Regions from separate parts of the Homo sapiens genome. Here region 2 is linked to region 1. The links are contacts of gene promoters, found by promoter capture Hi-C in blood cells and fetal thymus (Javierre and others, 2016). All regions are on one chromosome and are shown on one strand. The core of a region is centred on a gene start or on the middle of the fragment in contact, and the rest is flanking DNA. Distances in the headings are between cores, read along the strand shown.

Region 1 (5,883 bases), core at 2,175-4,674:
ACATGTCTAATAGCCATAAATTTAGCATATTTGTAACACCACCATCTCCCAAGCAATGACAATAAAGCATAAAAAGTCACTGAAATTTAATACTAAAAAGTACTTTTCCCCCAATCAAGAATATTTTAATAATTTAGCCAGATGTAGGCTAGCTTTATAGGAATTTTGAGAAAAGGCTATGCCCCTGTCTACTCCCTGGTAAGGTTTGGGAAGACACAGGAATCACCTGGAGTGTTTATATGGATACACTGGCTTATGTCTATCACTGACTATTTTAGTTACACATTTTTCTTTCACTTTTTTGTAGTAAAAAATAGATTAACTTCCTTAAGACAGAATGTCAGTGGGAATACATTTTTGTACAGTACAGTCGACAGTAGACTTTAAAGAACACATAGAAATCTGTACTTGTAAGTATCCAGCAATGAATCACATATTATAAAACACCACTCAGAACATGGCCAGTACAGAGAAATTTTTTTTCATTACACTGTAGTCAGAAACATATTGAGAGCAGGTGCTTGGAGAAAGAAAACTTCATGCCTATGAGACTCCAGAAGTTTACTCTTTACTTCTGAATTTCACTTTTGGTATCTGTATAATGAAGTTGTTAGAGATGGAAACATAAGACAATATTTGAAATGTATGATAAGATATATGGAGATATAGTAATTAGTATATGGAAAACACATGGGATGTGATACACGATCCATTGTAGAATGTATTTAAATTCATACCTTTTCCTCCACAAGCCCAGGCCTGAATGAAGAGGTGCTTTAAAAGCACATTTTTAGAAGGGAGAGTAGAGACAATTTTATGGCCAGAACAATGTGAATGCAGGATTCAGCTCTCTGTCCCATGAAGTTAAAGGCTAAAATAGTTGACTAAAATAGGGACGGAGAGGAGAGCAATACATAGCAGCCATAGGGGAGTCAATGGGGTAGACACAAAATTCACACTTTGAGTAACTTCCAAGTATCAAAGGACTGCCATGAATAATTGTACACAAAACTTATTTTGGAAATAAATAGAACTTAGCTTTTTTCTTAAAAAGCATGGCCTCAACACATGTTTTCTTTTTTTTTTGAAACGGAGTCTCGCTCTGTTGCCCAGGCTGGAGTGCAATGGCGCAATCTCAGCTCACTGCAAGCTCTGCCTCCCAGGTTCACGCCACTCTCCTGCCTCAGCCTCCCGAGTAGCTGGGACCACAGGCGCCCGCCAACACGCCCAGCTAATTTTTTTGTATCTTTTAGTAGAGACGGGGTTTCACCATGTTAGCCAGGATGGTCTCGATCTCCTGACCTCCCGCCTCGGCCTCCCAAAATGCTGAGATTACAGGCTTGAGCCACCGCGCAGGGCCACGTTTTCTTTTAAATAATCATCTTTGTACATATCAACTATATTAGGAGAAACAGACCTGAAAGTTTGTTTATGTTTATTCTTGGTTGAACATTACCAGCCTAATAAGCAGAAAATATTTAACATCACACAATCACATTTAAAAACATACATTACTCACACATATCTCTGTGCTAGAGATTGTGGGAATGTAGAGAGACACCTAGGCCAACAGACAAATAAAATATAAATTAAGAAAAAGTGTGTTCAATGTGACGGATGTTGTACATCCATAAAATAATTGAAATGAGGGTAGTTGTCACTGTAGTTGGGGAAAAAGTACTCAGACAATGATTAATGAAAAAAAGCAGCATGTTAGATTATCTTATTTCTAAATGGGAGATGAAGGAGATTTTCAGAAGTGGAAGAAACAGGATGAACAATGAAAAGGACAAGAAAACCATTAAGTTGAAAATCTACTCAAGTTTCATTGGCTGTCTTATTTCATGATAACCATGAAGCATACTGTTAAATGAATTCTGATAAATTTCTAACATTGGTCAATTTGGTGATAAAGCTGAAAAATTAAAAATGGAGCCTTTGGTAAACTAGTTGCAGCATTCACTGGGGAAAATACAGAACTAGGAATCTAATTAATCATGTTTGAATAACATAAAGGAGTGAAGGCAGAGGCTTGAGAGATTTATGTCCCAACAGTCACCAGTAAAAATAAAATGTGATCTGCCTATTGTTCACATACCAGAGGTAAGGACAGAAAGACTTGCTCATCTCAGGTAGGTTTCTGAATGATCAATTTAAAGGACAGAGGAAAAATTTTGGAAAAATAAGAAATCATGTATTAAGGAATTTACAAATGAATGATTTTATAGATGCTTACTCAGTTGAAGCACCTCTGGAATCTAATGGCCAAACAATGATATTTTCTTATTGGATCTGTGTGAATTTGACTGACCTTACTTGTCATTGTAAGAGGATAATATAGATTTCACCCATTTATATTTTAATCAACCTTCATAAGTAAATCATTACTTTAAAAAATCACTGTACCTGTGATATTATTTTAGATGTAAATTTAAGATAGGTTCTAGATTTACTCAAATAATAATAGAGGTAACACATTACAGATATTAATTTATGAAAATTCAAGTTCTTAAGGTACATGCCATAATATTTAAGTCTAGAAGAAATAACAATCAGACCCACCCCACATTTCAATTTTCATATAACAGACACACACAGGCACACACACACACACAAGAGTAAGTGCACATATAACACAAGCAACAGAAGCCTATATATTTCAGAAACACTTATTGTTCTTCACATTTTGATTTTAATGAAAAAGTCAATTATAAGCAAATATAAGTAGTCTGTTGTTCACACTTCTTTTACCACTTACATTTGGCTTTTGTTTTTTAGAACCAGATAAGTCATCCAAATGGATTATAAATGCTGTGACAAACCAGTGATGATGAGTAACAGTTAAATAAAACATTTTTCTTTTCCAGTAAGCACTAACGACACCACATCAAAAACAGTACCATAATAATTTTCTCTTATTAACTTACATGTAATATCACTGTCAGTGGTAGAAAAATGTATATATTTCTTGAATAATGCAATAAATATGATCCTTTTTTGTCAAATATATGAGATGCTTAGTCCGGTATGTTCTGGCCCTTGTGACTCTAACTATGGTGTTTCTTTCACATCCTTTTGGATCTGTACTGAGCTTTCAGTTTAATCAAATTGACTGCCTTAGATTGTACAATAGAAGCAAAGACAAATGATATATGTCAGAAATTGCATGTAAGTTTAGATTCAAAGTTGATCAACTTCCTTTGGCAGACACTTTTAGGGTTTTTTTTTTTTAATACAGTAATAATGCCTCTTTGAAAGTGACACTCACCTGGGATACTTTTTGAGGGTAAAGAAGATAATTTACATAAACAAATCTTGTTCTACTTTACAGATAATTTTTTTTTTGATATCTTGGAAAGTCAAGTTCTAGACTGTCATTCTCGTAATGATTTCTGTAGCAGTTTGAAACAAGAACAAGGAAGAATGGACTGGGAAAATTGCTCCTCATTAACTGATTTTTTTCTCTTGGGAATTACCAATAACCCAGAGATGAAAGTGACCCTATTTGCTGTATTCTTGGCTGTTTATATCATTAATTTCTCAGCAAATCTTGGAATGATAGTTTTAATCAGAATGGATTACCAACTTCACACACCAATGTATTTCTTCCTCAGTCATCTGTCTTTCTGTGATCTCTGCTATTCTACTGCAACTGGGCCCAAGATGCTGGTAGATCTACTTGCCAAGAACAAGTCAATACCCTTCTATGGCTGTGCTCTGCAATTCTTGGTCTTCTGTATCTTTGCAGATTCTGAGTGTCTACTGCTGTCAGTGATGGCCTTTGATCGGTACAAGGCCATCATCAACCCCCTGCTCTATACAGTCAACATGTCTAGCAGAGTGTGCTATCTACTCTTGACTGGGGTTTATCTGGTGGGAATAGCAGATGCTTTGATACATATGACACTGGCCTTCCGCCTATGCTTCTGTGGGTCTAATGAGATTAATCATTTCTTCTGTGATATCCCTCCTCTCTTATTACTCTCTCGCTCAGATACACAGGTCAATGAGTTAGTGTTATTCACCGTCTTTGGTTTTATTGAACTGAGTACCATTTCAGGAGTTTTCATTTCTTATTGTTATATCATCCTATCAGTCTTGGAGATACACTCTGCTGAGGGGAGGTTCAAAGCTCTCTCTACATGCACTTCCCACTTATCTGCGGTTGCAATTTTCCAGGGAACTCTGCTCTTTATGTATTTCCGGCCAAGTTCTTCCTATTCTCTAGATCAAGATAAAATGACCTCATTGTTTTACACCCTTGTGGTTCCCATGTTGAACCCCCTGATTTATAGCCTGAGGAACAAGGATGTGAAAGAGGCCCTGAAAAAACTGAAAAATAAAATTTTATTTTAAGGAAATAGTAAAAATACATGTTTATACACACAAAAATGCATATTCATACTGGTGTTTTCTTCAAATTATATATTATAACATAAAGTTGTCTCAAATACCCTAATTTAATATAATACATATTTTACTCAGCCACAATCTAGCAATTCTCTGGAATTGTCTAAATATGCTATTTTTTTAATGTGTTTTCAATTTAGGTAAGGTAATTTCTCTATATTTGAAAAATGCTCCAGTCTTTGAGTTAGTGGGGCAAATTTTTATTTGTTTAATATATATTTCAGAGTAATTTTTCTTTTTTTCTTTTCTTTTTTTTTTTGTGATGGAATCTGACCCTATTGCCCAGGTTGGAGTGTAGTGGTGCAATCTCGGCTCACTGCAACCTCCGCCTCCCTGGTTCAAGTGATTCTCATGCTTCAGCCTCCCGAGTAGCTGGGATTACAGGTGCCTGCCACCAGGCCCGGCTAATTTTTGTGTTTTCAGTAGAGATGGGGTTCCAACATTTTGACCAGGCTGGTCTCGAACTCCTGACCTCAGGCGATCCACCCATCTTGGCCCCACAAAGTGGTGGGATTACGGGCGTGACAGGCAGTAATTTTTCTAAGACTTATTGAGTGTTTAGTACATGCCTTTCACATTGCTGTGTACTTTGCATTTCATGCTGAATCCACTATATTCTGTACTAGTGAGTCATAGAATATAGTGGAAACATTTAATTAATCAAACTAACCAATAATTCATAATAAACTATAAAAGGCCATGAAGTCAAAAGGCAGGGTACTGTAAGCATAAACAAAATGTCTAACTAGAGTGAAGAAAAGAAAAGATTCTTTGAAATGGGGACATTTGGTTTTAGATCTAAAAATTCATAGAGATCCAATGGGTGGGTGGAGAGAAGAAAGGATTCTAGATAGAGAGGCTGAAAATTAGACATCCTGAGGTGGACAGGGCAATGCCTTTTTAGAGGAAAGGAAGTCCAACATGTAAGAATTGAAGGATAAAGTGGTACATGCAGTAAAGTCTAGTTGAGTTGATATTCTCTATTCATTTCCACTCTGCTTCTCTTCCCTTCTTCCTATTTCTAGCCCTATTTAAATGTCCCTCTTGTGGTTCATATATAATACTCTTTCAAAGGTACTATTCTATCTATCAGTCTGTTTATTGAACAAACACCACGAGTGTGAGACTGCAAGCATTCTTTGCTCAAAGACTGCATGTGTTATGCCTGTCATCCCAACCAAAGCATCTGCATGGTTTCTGGGTCACCAAATGGAAAAATAGATAAATAATAAAAACCAACACACGGTATAACATTTTTGAATGTTTGTGAGATATCAAAGTCTAGTTAAGTGAGGGTATAATGTGTGCTTTGAATATATATTTTATAGGTTTTTAAAAAACTTTTAAATTTAGGGGTACAAGTGAAAGTTTGTTACATTGGTAAACTTGTGTCATGGGGGTTTGTTGTACAGATTATTTCCTAACCTAGGAATGTGGCCATATATTTGCAAAATCATACAAAACCCAGGTAAA
Region 2 (5,883 bases), core at 2,081-4,580, 360 kb after region 1:
GATAACACAGGGGAAAAAACAGAAGGAACCCATTGTTGAAGATTGCTGTACCTACCAGTATTTTAAATCCTCCTTAATTAGAGAACCACCCTCCTAGAAGGTTTGTTGGGTCCCATCCCTTCCAGGTTTGGACTGGTACATGGGCTACTTTTCCGATGTTTGAAGTGATTTCAAGAACCACTTTTCCATGATCATCTATGTTAAGACAGCAATTGGAGATATTAAACTTGCCACAGACCCCACATTCTTCTGCTAATCTAGCAATGGCCTGTTTTGATAAATTGACACGTGCATTTGGTTTTGTTGTTGTGCTTGCATTTCCAGGGCTGAGGCAGTTTGGTTAGCGATTATCTCTAAAACTGCCTGTCATCTAATTATTCTAATTAGCATATATATGGGAGTGAGATAACACCATGAAACATCCTCAGCCCAAGTGCCAGGACAGTAATATTCAATGATTCATTATGGAGGCCATTCGTCTTCTTGCCATCTTTAGCTTCCTCCTACCTTTAAGGATCATTTTTCTTTGTTTAGGTTATTATACACAGGGACTCCCAGTGTGTTAACCGCAGTTAATGTTTTGGAGGAAGGAGTAGCCTTGGGGGTGAGCTTGACTCTGGTGTGATGGGCCCAGTGGGGGATTCCTTAGACTCTCACTGCAGTTGGTGTGCTGAGTATCACAGTGTAAGGGACCTGTCCACTTCAGTTGTAGTTTTTGGTGAGGGTCAGGTTGGCAGATAAATATGTCTGTGCCTGCAAGACATTTATGTTGAGAGGACAAGGAGGTGTCTACAGGGAGAGGTATGGCCTCATTTGCTGTTTCACTAATGAAAGACCATGTCTGGATTAAGGAGGAGAGGTAACTCCTGAGTGGCTCAGAGTCTGGTAAGGGTGAAGGCCCTAAGACTAAAGTTTGGCCACACATGATTTCAAAGGGACTATAAAAAGGGTGCTTTTGGTGTTGCATGGAGTCTCACGAGGGTAAAAGGGAACTTTTTTTTTGTCCACGACTAGCAGGTTTCTAAGGCCAGCATGGTGAGTTGGGCATTAAGGACAGAGTTGACCTTTCCAACTTTGCCTGAAGATTGAGGCCTGAAGGGTGTAGAGACGCCTTAGGTAATTTGGCTGATAAAAGGCGGGCCTGTTATTGGATTGGATGCATGTTGGGAGTTCAAAATGGGGAGTTATATGCATGATGAGAGTTTGTGTGATGACATTTGCATGTTCTGAAGTTGTTGGGAACACTTCTACCAACCCGAAGAAAGTACAGACAAAGACTAGAAGATAGTAGAACCATTTATTGGGCAGTATGTGAGTGAAGTCTACTTGCCAATCTTGCCTGGATACCAGGCCCCAGGCTTGGTGGGTAGGAAAAGGCTGTGGCTGGAGGGAACCTTGGGGTGATACTGAGTAGCAGACAGAGCAGGACTGGGTAATCTACAAACCAAGTAAAGGAGGCATCTGGAAGGTGTTGGTCTGTTATGTTTGGAAAAATGTAAGAGCAGCATTCACACCGAATTGTATAGGGTCTTGGGTGGTTGTAGCTTCAGGTAAGAGCATGGCTGGGTTTAGATGGGAGCTGGTTAGCATGGTAATGTGGGGAGTTTCTATGAATAGAGCATACAGTTGGAAGAGCTGTGGGGCAGAGATGAGACTTAGTACACAGCAGTGAGCTAACATGTCTTTGATGTTTCAGGTTGAATCGACTGTTAGGTTGGCATGGAGAGATCATTTTAGGCTTTCAAGAGTGAGGACAGCAGCTGCTGCCAAGCTCAGAGACAAGCAAGCCATCCATGAACTGCAGCTTTAAGCTGATTAGAGAGGTAGGCAACAACCTGGAAGATGGGTCCCTTAGACTGGGTTAGAACACCTACTGCAACTCCATGCTGGTTAGCGGTATAGAGGGAGAAAGGTTTGGTGAGGTCTGGGAGAGTGAGAATGGGGGCTGATGTGAGAGCCTTCTGGAGGATGGAAATGTTGGGTAATAGGCTGTGTGGGGTTTAAAGGCTCATGGAGAGGGCCTTTAGCCGCCTGGTATAACGGTTTGGCAAGTAGAGTGAAGGAGGGAACCCAGAGCCTAAAATAAACCACTAGTCCTAGAAAAGAGAGAATGTCTTGCTTAGTTTGCAGAGGTGGAAGGGAGTGGAGGTGCAATATGCAGTTGGTTGTGAGCCCTTGGAGTCACGGGGTAAGACTAGGCCTATATAGGTGACTGAGGAGGTGCATATTTGTGCTTTCTGAGGGTGGACACATAAGTTTTCTGATCCCACATTAATGATTTTTTTCTAGCATTACTTTATCTCTTGCCATGAAAGATGTATCTCATTAAGTTTTTATTTAAGGCCATTTTGACCTTTTTTACTCTTAACTTTGGATTTTTTAAAGTTTAATATTTTCTTTCTCATCAGAAACCACCATCAGTCTGTTCCATATTCTCCTCATGGCCTGTTTTACTTCCTTATTCCTGAAAGTGTAAATCAAAGGATTGAGCAAGGGATTTAAGATGATATAAAATATTGCCGCCATTTTGTCAAGGGAAAAAGCAGATGGAGGTCGTGTATATACAAATATGCATGGGACAAAGAACAAAATCACAACAGCAATGTGAGATCCACAGGTGGAGAGAGCTTTCCAGCGCCCTTCAGAACTGTGTGTTCTCAGAGAGAGCAAGATGACAGCATAGGAGACAAGCAACAAGGAGAAGTTTATGATGCAGATAAACCCACTGTTGATGACCACCATGAGGCCAAAGATGTGAGTATCAGTGCAGGCAAGCTCCAGTAACGGGTACAAGTCACACATAAAGTGATTGATGACATTGGGGCCACAAAAGGGAAGCTGGAAAGTAAAAAGAATTTGTATCATGGAATGCAAGAGGCCCCCTGTCCAGGCTACCCCCATCAGAATGCCACAGAGCCTCCTGTTCATGATAGAAGAGTAATGCAAGGGCTTGCAAATGGCCACATAACGATCATAGGCCATGGCTGTGAGGACAATCACCTCCACCCCAGCAAAGAAGTGTTCAGCAAAGAGCTGCATCATGCAGCCTTCAAAAGAGATGGTTTTTGTCACATAGAGGGAGTCTACAATCATCTTTGGGGTGATGACAGATGAGAAGCACGCATCCAGGAAGGACAGGAAGCCCAAGAAGAAGTACATAGGAGACACCAGAAGAGCAGGGCTGCTGAGAATGGTTACTACAATTAGCATGTTGCCCCCAACAGTTGCAATGTAGACAAACAAAAATACAACAAATACTATTTCCTGAACATTTGGATTCTGTGAAAGTCCCAGGAGGACAAACTCAGTTACAAAGCTTTGGTTTTGCATGTTTCCCAAGGAAAAGATGAAAGCTCCAACAGGGATCATGTATAGTCTGCAATTAGGACAAAGGAAAATTTGCTTCAGATCAATTTGTGGTATCATAGTCATTAACAAGTTGGTACATCCAAGTGCAAAATTATTGAGTGCTTCTGTTGTCATTGAGAACATAAATTAGAAATTATTGAAGGTAGTACTGAAATATCAGACAGAATTGTGATAGAGATAATTTAAAGAATACTTGAAAGAAACAAGAGGTTCAATATGGGGGAAGGATATGTGGTAGAGAAGAGAAAGAGTTTTCATATCAAGTGCCAGCTTTGATCATTTACTAGTGGCTTCCTGGAGTGAATTATTGAGAAGTATTCTGAAGTTACCTCTAAATTTTGAGAGAAGGAGCATTGTAACTTATTACTTATTTCTGCCATTGGCATCAAATGAGAGCAGGGATGACCAGCATCCCATTCCTAATCGGGAGACTGCTTTATCTGCAACTAGAAGAAAACAGCGTATAGTTCAAGAGGCACTTAAAAATTATGGCTGCTCTTCAAATATTTCTTTAAAAGTCTTAACTGAATTCATTCTTTACAAAAGAGAAAGATCTTTAGAAAAATCTCTAGCCTGACATTTAAAACATAAAAAGTATGCATTAAGTGCGGAGTGTTTTCTTAAATCTGTCATTTTAAAATGAAAACAGAAGTTTATTATTATTATAAAAGTAATAATGCCTACAACAGAATGTTGTTATGATAACTGGTGAAACAATGGAAGGCTAAGGACCGACTGCCCTAGGGAATGGTCTGCATTAGGTCTTATTATTCCTATTTGATTGGTGGGAAACTCATGCTTAAAGAAGTTAAGTTTAAGCAAATAACAGACAATCTGGGATATTAACACAAAATCTCAGGCTCCAACACCCAATTCCTTTCCACTAGATCAGCAGGGAAAGGAGTGGGGATATTCCTTTTCCAGTAAGAACTTCAAAGTAGGAATGGCCTTTCTACAAACACTTGCATGTACAAATTGGCATCAACCACATAAGTAAGGAAGAGAAACAATATATTGAATATAAACCGGAATCTTGAGGCTTTATTAATTATTTTCCAATTATTTATATAAAGTAATCAGGTCTAATGAAGTTTAATTCCTAAAAGAAGTGTATATTTCAACTTTATATGCATTATTGTGTAGCAGAGGTGTTTATATATAGCTTACCTGCTCATGTCTCAGGATTATGATGATGGTCAGATTTGAAAATGTGAAAATTTTACTTATAATAAAGTGCTCTTACCAATTGTATTTACTCACTTAAAAAGTCAGCCACCTTATCTACAAAAAGCTTTTTCATGAGTCATCTAGATAATTACTCTCCAACTTTTGACTTCATTTCCACAGGCAGACACAGCTTTAAAGGATAATTCTGTCTTCACCTATATATATATAATTGAAATGTGTTTTTCAATTACCATATATAAGTGTGTGTTTGAATATTTGTATATGTGTATATTTATATGTGTATACACCTTTGTTAAAAAATAAGTGAATAAAAAAGAATAAAGAGATTTATTTTGAGATTTAAATAAGCTGATTTTTATGAATGTCACTTGGAGTTAACAGAAACAATTTAAAATGTTAATAAAACTAACAAATATACAATTGTGTATGTTAATATATGTTCTTTTGCTTATTTTAAAACAATCATTTCCATTATGTTTTCAGTTTCATTTGTAACCAGTGTCTGCACTAGGAATTCCATATACAGTTATAAGTTATCATCAGGAAAATATGAGCTGGAACAAACCTTATAAGGTTATTAGATAAGTCAATAACCATTTATTGCAAAGGAAAGCATGTTAGTAAATGATCCAACAGTGCTCAGCTTAGCCGAGAGCCAAAGTGGGAAATACGATGAAGTGAAATGAGTAAGAACTTCAGTTCCAGACTCATATAGACGTAGGTTCAAATCCAAGCTCTCCTACTTGTTCTATGGCATGTTAGAACAAGTCACTTCAAATTCTTAACATTCTCAAAGCCTCAGCTTCCACTTCAGTAAATGGATATGATGTCTATCTATACATATCTTGTGAGTATAAGAAAGCAATACACACAAAAGCACTGATGCAGTAAGAAGCATAGAAGATCATGATGAGTGGTGAGAACAAGCCCTCAGAGCCATTGACACAGAGCAGAAATAACATTTTTACACTAATTTTTGCTTTACCAAGACCAAGGTGGTTTTACTCATCCTTTAACACATGGACACAGGAAGGGGAGCATCACACACCGGGGCCTGTTGTGGGGTGGGGGGAGTGAGGAGGGACAGCATTAGGAGATACACCTAATGTTAAATAACGAGTTAATGAGTGCAGCACACCAACATGGCACATGTATACATCTGTAACTAACCTGCACGTTGTGCACATGTACCCTAAAGCTTAAAGTATAATAATCAAAAATTTAAAAAAAAGAAAATGTGCCACATATACACTATGGAATACTATGCAGCCATAAAAAAGGATGAGTTCATGTCATTTGTAGGGACATGGATGAAACTGGAAACCA

The links. Contacts are between HindIII fragments. The CHiCAGO score rates a contact against its expected background, and 5 or more counts as called.
Region 2: the fragment with the promoter of OR4C15 here is called in contact with the fragment with the promoter of OR5W2 in region 1 in 4 of 17 cell types (neutrophils, total CD4 T cells, naive CD8 T cells and 1 more); the score reaches 5.9 in neutrophils.

What each region holds. Positions count from the first base shown.
Region 1 is chr11:55,912,123-55,918,005 of GRCh38, reverse strand. OR5W2 (olfactory receptor family 5 subfamily W member 2) reads left to right here and starts at 3,424. Exons shown (of 1, transcript NM_001001960.1): 1 at 3,424-4,356. The coding sequence starts at 3,424. The coding sequence ends at 4,356. The HindIII fragment of the contact is 7,753 bases long and covers 1-5,883 here.
Region 2 is chr11:55,551,916-55,557,798 of GRCh38, reverse strand. It overlaps OR4C15 (olfactory receptor family 4 subfamily C member 15), which reads right to left and starts at 3,330. Exons shown (of 1, transcript NM_001001920.3): 1 at 2,380-3,330. The coding sequence starts at 3,330. The coding sequence ends at 2,380. The HindIII fragment of the contact is 1,344 bases long and covers 3,319-4,662 here.